Linked DNA regions of Homo sapiens: all the other regions are linked to region 1. Evidence: promoter capture Hi-C in 16 types of primary human blood cells and fetal thymus (Javierre and others, 2016). All regions are on one chromosome and are shown on one strand. Each heading gives the region's core, a stretch centred on a gene start or on the middle of the fragment in contact. The rest is flanking DNA. Distances are from core to core; before and after follow the strand shown. Region 1 holds the start of POU3F3 (POU class 3 homeobox 3). Region 2 overlaps LINC01935 (long intergenic non-protein coding RNA 1935). Region 3 has its middle 160 kb from the start of LINC01935. Region 4 has its middle 180 kb from the start of LINC01935.

What was found. Contacts are between HindIII fragments. The CHiCAGO score rates a contact against its expected background, and 5 or more counts as called.
Region 2: a contact is called between a fragment that was not itself captured here and the fragment with the promoter of POU3F3 in region 1, in 1 of 17 cell types (endothelial precursors). The highest score is 5.9, in endothelial precursors.
Region 3: a contact is called between a fragment that was not itself captured here and the fragment with the promoter of POU3F3 in region 1, in 1 of 17 cell types (endothelial precursors). The highest score is 7.0, in endothelial precursors.
Region 4: a contact is called between a fragment that was not itself captured here and the fragment with the promoter of POU3F3 in region 1, in 1 of 17 cell types (endothelial precursors). The highest score is 13.0, in endothelial precursors.

The regions. Positions count from the first base shown.
Region 1 is chr2:104,852,629-104,855,750 of GRCh38, reverse strand. POU3F3 (POU class 3 homeobox 3) reads right to left here and starts at 1,636. Exons shown (of 1, transcript NM_006236.3): 1 at 1-1,636. The coding sequence starts at 240. It also overlaps a transcript of PANTR1 not described here. RefSeq lists an enhancer at 1,443-2,032. The HindIII fragment of the contact is 8,766 bases long and covers 1-3,122 here.
Region 2 is chr2:102,968,524-102,971,645 of GRCh38, reverse strand. LINC01935 (long intergenic non-protein coding RNA 1935) reads left to right here. Exons shown (of 4, transcript NR_135530.1): 2 at 659-805; 3 at 2,592-2,709. Among named protein-coding and RNA genes, the nearest start is that of LINC01935, 14 kb to the left of the region's middle. The HindIII fragment of the contact is 677 bases long and covers 1,259-1,935 here.
Region 3 is chr2:103,140,388-103,143,509 of GRCh38, reverse strand. No RefSeq gene overlaps it. Among named protein-coding and RNA genes, the nearest start is that of LINC01935, 160 kb to the right of the region's middle. The HindIII fragment of the contact is 166 bases long and covers 1,342-1,507 here.
Region 4 is chr2:103,166,545-103,169,666 of GRCh38, reverse strand. No RefSeq gene overlaps it. Among named protein-coding and RNA genes, the nearest start is that of LINC01935, 180 kb to the right of the region's middle. RefSeq lists a silencer at 503-606. The HindIII fragment of the contact is 4,318 bases long and covers 1-3,122 here.

The DNA.
Region 1 (3,122 bases), core at 387-2,886:
CCCCTGCATGAAGTCGCTCTGGACCATCTTGACAGAGGACGGGTCCCCCCGGTAGGCGCCCGAGGTCACGGCGGCGCTGCCCGGCTGCATGCCGCCGCCCCCGCCCCCTGCGCCGCCCCCGCCGCCGCCGCCGCCGCCACCCCCGCCGCCGCCAGCCCCTGCCGCGTCCGAGTGCACAATAGAGCCGGCCGCGAGCAGGCTGTTCCCCGGCAGGTAGGGGTTAGAAGCCGCCGTGGCCATGCCGCTCCGCTCCCGCCACCCCACCGCCGCCACCACCGCCGCCGCCGCCGCAGCAGCAGCCGCGGCCGCCGCCGCCGCCGCCGCCGCCGCGCCCCCCGCCTCCCGCCTCCTCCCCCCCTCCTTCCCCGCCCCCGCCCCGGGCCCCCGCCGGCCCCGCCGCCTTCGCCGCCTCCTCCTCCGCCGCCGCCTCCGCCCCCGCCGCCGCCGCCGCCGCCGCGGCCCCCGGCTGCAGCTGCAAGGCCGCTCGGCAGGGCGCGGGGGTCGCCGGCCGGCCTTGGTCACCAGCAGCAGCAGCAGCCGCAGGAGCAGCGCTCTGGGGAGGGGGGCTCGCTTCTCGGGGTGCGCTCCGTGGCCACCCCCTTCAGGGGGGGTCGTGGCCGCCCCCCAGCCCCGGCGCGCTGGGCTCGCTCCAGCGGGGCTCGCCGGGCGGGGCGGGGACCTGCACTCGGGGCGCTCTCCCGGGACGCGCGGGCTCCCGCTCCTCCTCCTGTCCTCGGGCGAGCCCGGACTCTGCCCGGTCGCGGGGCTCCGTCCACCTGCTAAGTGAAGGTTTCACGGGAGATAACAAAGAAAGAAGCTGCTCCTTTCTTCCTTAGCCAAATTACGGATGACCAGCAACCGGCCCGCTCCTTCTCTTGTCCGCTCTCTCCTCTCCTCTCCTCTCCTCCTCAGGAACACATTTCACTCGTTTTCCCTTAGAGTAGTAAAACTTTTTCGTCCTTGAAGGCGTGGTGCTGCTGGCTGCTCGCGAGTGCGGAGAGGGGAGGCTGGCTCCTGCTCTCCCCCTCTGGTCCTCTCGTTTCAAGTTTTGTTCTGTCCTAGGAAAACTTCTTGCGATGGTGCATTTCTCTGAAGTTGCTATTGCCGGAGCTCTTGGTTGCCTCTGAAACAAGAGTCCTTTTTCATTCTCCTCGCAACAGTCACAGTCTGATGCGACATCTTTCCTTTTGGGCAGAAATTAGGAAACAAATATAACAAGGAAAAAATTGAACAGGAAAAAAAATGATGTCGAATCGCTCTGTTACCTTGTTGCTGACGGTTGGGGTTGGTGTTTTATTTTTTTCCCAGCAGTTGTCTGGAGAAGGAGGAGGAAGAAGAGTGCATTGGTGGAGGTGGAGGTGTGTGTGTGCATATAGGGGATCGATCCTTGATACACAACAACTCCAGTGGGCACGCTGCACGGCTCGTAGAGTGCACCGACGGCGGGCGCTGGCGCTGGCCGTGCTGGAGCAGAGTTGCAGCAGGAGCTCGCTCTGCGCCCTCGTTCGCGCTCTCTTTCCCTCTCTCACTTTTCCTCTCCCTCCCTCTCTCTCTCTCCCTCTCTCGGGCGCCCGCTCTCGCTCCGATCTGACAGTTCGCTCTCTGTCCCTCCCTCTCAGAGCGGGGACTGTCGAATGTTTACCCTCCGCCGCGAGCGCGCACCCACCACCACACTTTCCCAAATACAAGGAAGTCGAGCACCAGGGCCCCCGCTGATTGGCTACCCGCTGGGTGATTGGCAGGCTCGGAATGACTGGCTCAGGACGCGAGGCCCCCCTTCCGGCCGTTCCGATTGGTTGCTTTTTAATTTAGGCAGAGCGTCGTAGAAGCTGGAAATCTGTCGTCCTCCAGCCTCCCTCCCCCTCACCACTTTCCCCTCCCCGCCCCTCCCCCGCCGCCCCCTCCGCCACATCTTAACTCTTAGTGTCCGGCCCAGACGTTGGCGTTCCCTCGGCGGCTCTGGGCGTTCGCAATAGGTCTGGGCGGGGGGAAGAAAGGGGAGATAAAAGGGAGGGAGGGACGAGAGGGGGGAAGAGAATCAGAAGGAAAACGAAGGGGGAAACATGAAAAATAGCAACCTGCCCACCCCACCTAGTACGCGTCGGGTTGCTCACCCCCTTACCCCCGCCCCGCCAGAGATTTGTAAAGCGCGCGGCACGGATGTACCATTCAAGCTAATACCTATAGACAGATGTGTCCCCAGTGGTTTCAAAGTTTCCTCTTCCCTTCACCAGCCGGCCCCCTTCTCTGATCGGCGGGGGTGGGAAGCGGGGGCTCGCATCGCCAAGAGCTCTGGTCGTGGCCACGCTCCTTGGAAATCCGCCACCGCAACTTTCCGCAGCCGTTGCGCGCCGGCGGCAGCCCCCTTTGTTTAAGTTCTCGGATGCCATCATCTGGGAAACCTGCAGCCCAGGACCAGCGCGGTGCCCGCGCGTGCGAGACGGACCGCTCGCTGCCGCCGCTCCCTGGCTCCTCCACCCCCTCTCTCCCTCCTTCGCTCTCCCTCCCTTCCTCCCTCCTCCCTCCTCTGGGATTCGTGCAAGTAGCGTGCGTGCCCTTGTGAGTTTGGAGGGTGCCGGTCAGCGGAGCCGTGCGATGTATTTGAAAAGCAATCAGTCCGACCTTCCCCCATAGATTCATCGTAAGTGTATTCGACCCCAATGGCTTTAGGAATTCCCTGTGGCAGCAGGAGCCGGGCGAAAGAACCGGGATCGGCTAGCCGCGCCCTTCTCTGCTCCACCGCTTCCTCGTGTGTGTGTGTGTGTGTGTGTGTGTGTGTGTGTGTGATTAGCGGTGGGGGGGTTTGCTCGCTCTCTATTCTTAGGCATGGTGGTGCTTTTTTTTCTTTCCTTTCTGTCTCAGATGGATTTGCGTGGTGGATGGGGCTGGCGGCGACAAATGCTTTCTCAGCTCTAACCCAGCTGAAAGAGTTAAGGGGGATGGGAGGGGGAGTGCACCCGGTAGGCGAGAGAAGCGGGGGTGGGGTGGGGTGGGGTGGGGGGACGCGGCCAAGCGGAAACGCTGCACAGAGGAACCTCAGCGAACCAAGAAAAAAGAGAAAGTGGCAACGAAAACAAGGGCAAATTGAGCCCTCCTCGGGGATTTCCAATGAACTAACCCAA
Region 2 (3,122 bases), core at 348-2,847, 1.9 Mb after region 1:
AGACTTCATACATTCTACGTATTTTAGGCTAAAGGTAAATTCAAATTGCACATTTCCTCACACATTTTCTTGCTATAATCATAAATGTGATCTTGCAGGGAGTACCATTTACCTTTTGATTGAGAGATCAACATTAACTGAATAATCATAAAGAAATGCTTCCTGAGAATTCTCTTGAAAACATACAAAGCCTAGAAGGGAGGCAGAGTGCAAAAGCTTAAGTGCTCTTCTAGCTCATGAATCTCAGGCCCATGTCTTATGTTTTTCAATATTACATTTTGTCCTGGACATTCCCCCCATGTGTAGGGAAGGATTGATGCAATTTCAGGCAATAATGAGATACCTGTAGTATTAGAGGACAATGAGTGGGGTCCTGTGGGGGAGGAAAAGCACTAAGCATTAGTCCTGCCTCTAAGCGTGACATCACCGTTACCAGCTGGGTGGTTCACAGGCACCCCAAACTCTCGGAGCCAGAGTCCGGCAGCTCCAAAATGGAAATCGCATGAAAGCCAACCTCACAGAATACTATGTTGCTACGGAGAAAATGTTTTAAAAGTAAAGCAAATTATAAATGTAACAGGCAGTCAGACGTGCCCAGGGTGTTGATCCTATGTATAGATCCAACACACAGACATTGATGTTTTTGTTGTTGGGCCAGGAAGAAAATGCTAAGTATGAATTTCCAGTTTTCTCCAGTCCCTTTCCTGTTGCTAAATGAAGATCATTCCATCATTGTGTATCAAATGCAGCATTTGTGAAAATACCTCCCGATCATCTTTCACAGGAATTCTTTCCAAGTGAGAAAGTAAGTAATGGGGTCATGGGCTTTCTGGAGTAATACAACCTAGGTTTCTAGTGTGATTTTGATCAGCAGATTCTATCCCCAGTTTTATTTGTGTGTGGGTAAGCTGCAATCTATGATTTCATGTATTTTCTGAAGGAAAAGAAGGAAACTTAGCTAAAGGTATTTTATCACATTTCATAAGAAGGAATCCTGGAATTCATGAGGAGTCATTTGAGATAGCCTACTGCTAACCCAAGCCAGGCAATTAATCATAACACAACAGACAGAAGTCGTGAATTGACAGTTAATGGAGCATACATTTAGGTAACAGCTTACACCTTCACTATCACCCTCTTCATCCTCTTCCTCATCTTCATCATCCGTGGCAAAAGTAGTGAAATGGAGGTGCAGTGATTCCTTCTGTTTTGGTTCTTAAAAAATATAAGTCAGTCAAATGTCAGCCCATGCCAAGCTTTCTTGTGGAAGATTTCAATCTATATTGAGAAAGGCTTCCATTGTCCTCTCTATCCTCCCCTAGATGTTTAACGTCCCGTGCTAACAAGTCAAGTCAAAGTGAGTTCTAATGCAGGAGAACACATACCAATGTATAGATTCCTCTTATTAAATTTCGGGGGTTTTGACCTTTCCAGATTACCTGACGTTATCCCAGATGTTGGCTGTTTACAGTGGGGCCTCAGTAACTCATGTTGGCATTTAACAAAATTTAGAAATATGGGAATTTTAAAAATGTTTTCACTTTTTTCAAGGAACTTTGATTTAACCTGAAGCCACGAGTAAACTCAGATGGGTAACAATTTTAACTAACTCAAAATGAGAGATCATCTGTAAATCATTAGGGTAGATTTTGGAGCAAAAGCAGAAATTTTTGCAATACCTTCTTTGGCAAAAATCACTCTGCCTATAAGTAAATTAGGGTGATAGTGCCATCTAGTTATTTGTGGCTGGACCATAGACAGCAACAAGGGGGAAATGTTGTATTAGCTCAGTGAATAAGAAAGAAATGCTTCATTGCAATGATAGAATAACCAATTGGCTGATAATTAAACTGGTCTGAATTTACAGTGTTCACAAAGGTCTGGGAATCAGCACAGCTCAGTCTTTGTCTCATTCCTCCATGACCCCTATAAGCTTTCTCATAGGAAATTTGGGAACAGAATTTGATGAATCTGGTTACAAAAAAGTACATCCCTGGTATATAAAATATTTTTCAAATGCTAATTCCAAAATGAATATATTAGACACGTAAGAAAGAAGATTGATACAGAAAATGATGCTCTGAGTCACTCTAGAGTAAGAAGTTACATGCATAAAATCTATCATATCCACACACACGCACATATACATGCACACATACGTGTGTATACATACGTGTGCACACACACACATTCTCACACACTTGCACAGGTTGAAATCTTGCACTCCAGCCTCTGTGGATAAATTGTGAATTCCTAACACACCCAAGATCAGATTGTAGACAGAATTTTGGCCCTCCCAAAGCACTGGTGACTGGCATTGCTCAGGAACTCAGAATGGTGAGCTTCCAACTAGGTTGCTACACTTCTCTATCCCTCTCTAAATGAAAAGAGGATCAATTTGTTCCAACTGTCCCTGTATTTTGGTTTGTAACTGAAGTTCCTTGCCTCACTCCTACAATTTCATCCCTTTTCAATTCTTTATGCTGTTTTTGGCCTTGTACTTACTTCCTTTTTGCTCACTCTTCGGGTGATTTCAAATCAGTTTTCAAAATATTTAGAGGTGATTCATTTTTCTATGTTCTTTTTTGTAGGCCACCATAAAAGAAGAAGGCCACCATTGTATTTATGAACTATGCCCTGATATATTTCAGGAGGCTGGTGAACACTCATTGTAACATTTAAGACTTTGTACAATTTAATCACATTCAGGTAATTCCATTTTCTAGATGGAATGTTTGAGTCTGTTTGGTTACCTGTATTCTGTCACTTCACTGTATCTCATATGTGTAGGGGGGTGGAAGAGGAGGAAATTGTGAAAATGGAAGAAATTTTGCTGCCTAGATTTTAGCTCAATGGATTTGGAAAAAGATTTGCTCCCCAGATTTGACCAAGATTAATAAGGACCACATATATTCAAGTGCAAATTTCATTCCTAATCATTCCCTCTTTAAATACGTGAGCCATACTGGGTTGAAAAAGCGGCTCTGAGTTTGATGTATCATCTGCTACAGAGCAGAGTTCATGTTGCTTCCATGTTGGTGCCTGGTGTGTTTTATCTGGTCTACATCTGCCCCTGGTTTCAATAATTCACTTTGTTCCAAGTCTGGGGCATGTGTGTTGAT
Region 3 (3,122 bases), core at 175-2,674, 1.7 Mb after region 1:
GTTAATTACATCAGTATATAGCTACAGATGAAAGGGAGTATAGTTATTAAAGTAAAACATCGAGGGAGGTTTTGTGGTGGTAAAAGATTATATATCCATACCATTAGTTGCTGAAATCCATTATACTCTTCAACTATAACAATAACCACTGTAATAATAAGTGGCACTTAAATAGCACTTTTCAAATTCAACATTGTGGTACTTTGCATTTATGTAGGCATTCACAGTTAACAGAACACTTCCTTATGAATTAGCTCTTTGGAAATGCACTAGAGGACCCGCCAGGAAGGCTGGACAGAGATGATCCTGTCAACCTAGGAGATAAGGAAAACACTGCTCAGAAAGACCAGACACCAAAGCCCTCACTATTGTATGTAGCAGAGACAGGCCCTTACTCAGCTTTCTTGGCAGTTCACATTCCACTTGGGACCATGAGACTGATGTTGTGTCATTCCATATGGGATGTATGTGGCTGTTTGCAGATTGGATGATTGAGCTGTAGGTACTTGAAAACACTTTTAAGATTTGATGCCTCTTTTACAATCTTTCAAAGTCAAACATTAGTTCTAGTAACTATTTTGAGTATATCTTAGATTAATACTGCAGTTTACAGTTGACAAAGTGCTTTCACATATATGAGGTCATTTGAATCTCACAAATTCATCAGCAGACACAAGATACAATCATCATATTCCAATTTTAGTATTTAAAAAATCCACAACCAGCTAGGTGGACAGATCCCTCAAGTTTTCTAAAGCTAGGAATGGCAGAGGGGAAGGGCTGACAAGGTTTTCTCATACAAACCAACTGTGGACACAAGGGATCTTCACCTTCCACATCATTCTAAAAAGAGGCCATTAGCCATGCAAATGTCATTTTACTTATAAAAATATTATCAGATGCCAGCCATGGGCTAGGATACAGTGTTAGCTAATGTTAACATTGCAGAAGTAATTCTCAAAGTCAAATTTCTAACTCTGAAGCTCCTTTCTTCGATTCTAAAAATGAAGAGATAGTGACATCGGAGTGACTAAATGCATAGGTTTGGGTATCAGTCTGACTTAGATTTAAATTCTCCCTCTGACCTGCTCCATGACCTTGCACTGGAGGTCAAGGTTAACTTTGCTTCTCTGAGCTTTAGTTTACTCATTTTAAATGTTGGATAGACAATCTCCATTAATAGACTTGTGTATTTCAGGAGACAAATGTGGAAATAAAGGAAGACTATCCAAATGAGATCAAGCAAATGCTATTTATCCAGAGATTGTCATAGCAAGGGAGCTGACCACCAGCACTTGAGTTTGACAGAGACCCAAAGGCAGCCAGAGGGCTGGGAAAGCTTCGTGGTAGAAAGCAGGGAAGAGGCTGTTGGTGTGGGGGAGCTGGAGGAGGCTAACTAGAAGCCTGGACTCCTATGTGATGCTTAGGGGGGCATGTTTGGGTTTCTCTAGCTGGTCCTAACTTGGAAGTGGGTGGGGGATGAGGATGGGTGGGAAATTAGGAAGCTTTTAATTATTTGGAGCTGGTTGTTCCAGGGGTTACTGTTCTGCTTTGAGGATTATTGCTAGAGATAGCGGTCTGACTGCCTGAACTTCTGACTTAAGGATAGCAGGCTGGTTCCTGGGCTGGTTGTTGTAGATAATAGGTTTGTTTCCTGGGCAGATTGCTGCAGATTATGGGTCAGAGTTCTATTTGTATACATGATCTGACAAGTGTTCATTTGTATGTTGAATCTCTCAAGAGGGTTACATAGATTCTTCCTTCAGAGCAATGATTTCATGGGCCTTCATCCGTTTCCCCACTCCCATGCCTGCACCAGTACCCCACTGTGCAGCTCACAGTGCCATTAGAATTATCTAGATGTCACATTCTTTTGTTTAAAACTCACACCTTTTTGCCTAAAGTTAACATCCTGATTCTATAGTATACCTCACAAGATCATCTACAAGCAGAGCCTACACACTGTCTAGCTTAGGTGTAACAGCCCTGGGGCGAGACAGTAAATTGACTAGCACAACTTGCAGCAAGCTCTCCATTTCTCTCCACACCAGTTTCTATACCCACAAATGAGGCAACCAGTAGAGCCTAGGTCATGTACACAGGGTTGTGAGCAGGAAAAGGGCTTAGCACCCAGGCTGCCTCCTGCCTCTCTGCTCTCATCTCCCCAGTCCATGCCTGGCCATCTGCTGCAACCCTATCTACATGATTACTTCCTCCTCCTTCTTTTTCATTGTGTTTCATCCATCCCATAGATTTTAGCCAATGATCAGTTTTCAATAAATACTTGTATAATTAATTTCCCTCTGAACATGTGCTATGTTATTGCATTTATCTAATGTCAAAACCAATACATTTAATGGTTTGAAAAGGCATTAAACTCATCTCCAGATTTAGAGAGGAAAGAGTGGCCATTCACAGATGTGCAAAGTGTCATGGGCATTCATGAAGATAATTAAATAATTATCCTCCTTTAAAGAGAAATATAGCATCCACATGGGTTTTTGAAAAGGTTAAAATCAATCCGATTGACTCTATAGGAGTCTCTACTCTTCAGAGAGGACTAGGGGAATTCAAGGGGCTCTTCCGGTCTTTGTTGCATTCCAATCTGCAAAAGGTGCCTCATGTGTAACAGCACAAAACAGGACTGAAGACGGCTCTAGGCATGGTGTGAACCAACATAAGGCAGCACTTTCAGAGCATCTGATGTTTAGGAAATTCACTTTGAACTTTGGCTTTCTTTTCCTCAGATATAGGGTCAAAAATCTCCTCTGCAACACCTGTGGATAGCAGATGGGAGACAATATTTCCAATGTGTAGCATTTTGCTCTCTATTTCTTGGAGTTTGTGTGTGCAGAAGGTAGAGAGGCTGAGGGGACAATGAAAGAAGATGATTAAGGGAGAGGATAACCAACTTGGGGGTTCAAGGTCAGTGTTTAATGTACCAAAAGGAAGCATTTTAATTTTAAGAAATTATGATCTCTATTTTGCATGAACTCCTCTTTCTTGGGAAAGGAGTTTTGATATCACTGTTTTGATTTTTAAATGTTTCAGAGTTTTGAAAGCAGACACGTGCTCCAAAGCTGGAGAGACCTGTGGGCATCTGCATCTCACTGGTGGTCGTC
Region 4 (3,122 bases), core at 229-2,728, 1.7 Mb after region 1:
AGCAGTAAACGTTTCTACTAGAGTTATAGAATGATGTAAGGCATTCAGCTGGAACTGTAGATGCCATACATCTAAACCTTAAATTAGAAGATTTGATATAATCTCCATCCCATCCACAACCTTTTAAACAATCAATTCATTTCATGCTCAGCTCATGGTAAAGAAGATTTCTGGAACAAACACAGATGAGCTTGCTCACTTTGCTGGACTGGGAACAAAACCAGTGACTTGCTTTGTTCTAGGGGCTCTCTCTAGCCCTGAGCCTTTTGGGGTCACTCTGGAAGGGTAGACCTGCAGTGACCATTGGCCACGGTCCCCTTCATGTCCTGTTGGTCCTTCATTTATCTACTCTCTTCTCCTCTTTTCCCTACTAGTGCCTCAGCCTCTGTATTTGATCTTTCTGTCTGTCAGGCTGATTAGCATACTTTGACAGATTAAAAGGCTAAGGTCAAACCAACAAACCCCTAAAGAAATACGGCTAATTATTGTCCTATGCTTTTTAAATACTTTTGCTCTTCAAATAATTTAACAAGCAATAAAATTCAACTTTGTATCCCAAGGGTTGTTTAATGTTGTATTAGAAAAATAAATCCTTTAACTTTCTGCATTCCATGTGGTGGGAGAGCAATGAACTGTTGTGGGGTTGTCAGTGGTAATCGTCTCCACTTCTGGAGTCTCTAAAGTGACACAAAATGGCAGACGGAGTCTTGCAAGCAGTGCCATGTAGCGACCTGTGGAAATGACACTGGTTTCGCATTCATACATCGTACCCATAGGTAACATCGAGACAGGAAGTATAGCTTACAACCCTAAGAGGCAGGGTAGTGCAGTGGCTAGGGCACAGACTCTGGTTGAGATTCCTTGGTTTGAATTCCAGTCTCATCCTGTGTGAACTTGGAGATGTCAGGGTGGTTGTTTATTTTCTCTATGCCCTGATTTCCTGATCCATAAAATGGGGACTTAGTTATAATAATAGTACATATCTCATCAGGTTGTTGGGAGAATTAAGAAGAATGGATTTGGAAGGATGCCTGAATTGTTCACTATCAGTAATTCCTTGGCTTGATATTCCCAACACTATTTTATGAGAAAGCTGTTAACCAATGTGATGCTCGGAAGTATACTACATGTATTGTCTCACTTCTAAAGAATTAGTCATCGGACGATATGCAAGGTAACATTGCCAACCCTCCTCCACTGCAGGTAAATCACTCCCTGGCCCCCAGACAGCACTGATTAGAAGCATTGTCAATCGTACTTCAGCCCTGCTACAAGCCAAGGCTAGGAAGACAAGGGTCGGGAATGCAGATGCGCAGTCCTACTCACCCTCCAGATTTAAAAAAAAAATCAATTTACAAGATGATAATGGAGTGAGGTTTATTGTGCTGCCCCTCAAACGACTGTACAATTCTGTGATGAGCAGTGGCTCAATACCAAGTGGCTCCTGGCAGGGCGGGGGCAGGCCTGGAAAAGAGCAAGCTGGGGGTGGGCGGGTGGAAATGCAAGGGAGTGAGGGGAGTGAGGAAGAGGCGAAAGCACTCAACTCAAAAGCTAATTACTCCACATATTTTGAAAGATAAAAACAGGATAGCCTCCAAGTAAGAGGCATCTAATAGCTCAAGAAAGTCTCCAGTGAAGCCGTTCACTACAGGTGAAAGGCCCAATTACCAGATCAAGTGGCTACATTATCAAAAATTATTCTATTGATTTCAGTGAGGTGCGTTTCCCTGCGATGATTGCCACCATCTGAAATTTCCTTTCCTGCTGATTTGGAACATGCCGCCCCATCTCCGTGCTTCAAGTTGTTCAAGATGCGTTCGCATGTGTGGGTAAGCACAGCTCAGCCTGCTGTGAGAGTCTGGTTAGCACAGGCTGGAAAGGCAGGCAGGCCGCCAGGTGCCCAGGGCCAGTGGCTCTGTCACTAGTAAGAAATTAGGTGCAACGGGATGTCATTTGCATAGGCACTTTCTGAGTTCTGGATTTCCCGCAATGTTTCCTACAAGGGATGCTACTTTGGGGAAAGGCCCCCATGAATCCAAGGTGAACTTGCAAACTTCAGTGGTCACAGCCTGGAAGCAGAAAGATAAAGCATTAAACTTCACACCTGGGCACCATAGGGGTGAATTGGGGTCTACATTTGAGGAAGGTGGGGAATTGGGAATAGAGATCTTTCTAATTTCATTCAAATTACCCAGTACTTTCTATTTCTAAAGAATATTGTGAGAAAAAGCACATTTAATCGAACAAGGTTCCAACCAAGTAAAAACTGGAAAGGAATCTTAGAAGTCATTTACTTTCTAGGAAAATCAAATGTTCTTTTTACAAATTTCAATATAATGCCATTTTAATAGTTCAGCTAGATAATTTCCTTAAGAATGTTTTTTTTTGGGGGGATCCAGAGATGAGTGGACAATTTCCACTTGCCTGTGGGTAAAAAGTGGAATGAATTCCATGCCTATCTTCCCTCCTACGTCTACCCACATCCCTATTTCCTGGATACTGTTCTTGGGTTCACAGTTGGTTAATGTAAAACCAGGCTGGAATAGGATGTCTTGCAGCTAATGTTTAAACTAAAGCCAAGAGAAAGCACCTTTCTGATGCTGGTGAACTTCTACCCCATATGGGCCCAGGGAGAGCTATTGTGTACACGAATAAAGGCACCAAGGCAGGGTGGTGCAGTGGAACTTTAAGCCAATTATTCCCGCACTTGCTCTCCATTGGCTGCCTCCTCCTTCCTGGGACTCCTCAGGCTGATGCCCAACATATTCAAATCTTCCCCTAAAAGGTTTAGTCTAGGTTGCTTCTTCAGTACTGTTTGAACATTAAATATGCAAATAATCATCATTACACTTCCAACAATTACACATGTTTGCGAGCACCGTGTCAAGTGCTGGCAGCAGAGCAATCATTTGTAAAGACAAATATTCCATTCCAAGAGATGTCATGCTGCTTAGAAGATTCTTTTTTGTATTAGTAGCCACACTGCTGCTTCCTAAAGTGTGCAAATGAACGTGACAATGCTGCCAGGAGCTGCCAGGCCCTTCCCCTCCGCAGAGCAGGTGCCAATCACCCATCCCACACAGCAGAGGCCCGGCCTCACAGCCCAGGGACACTGAACATGG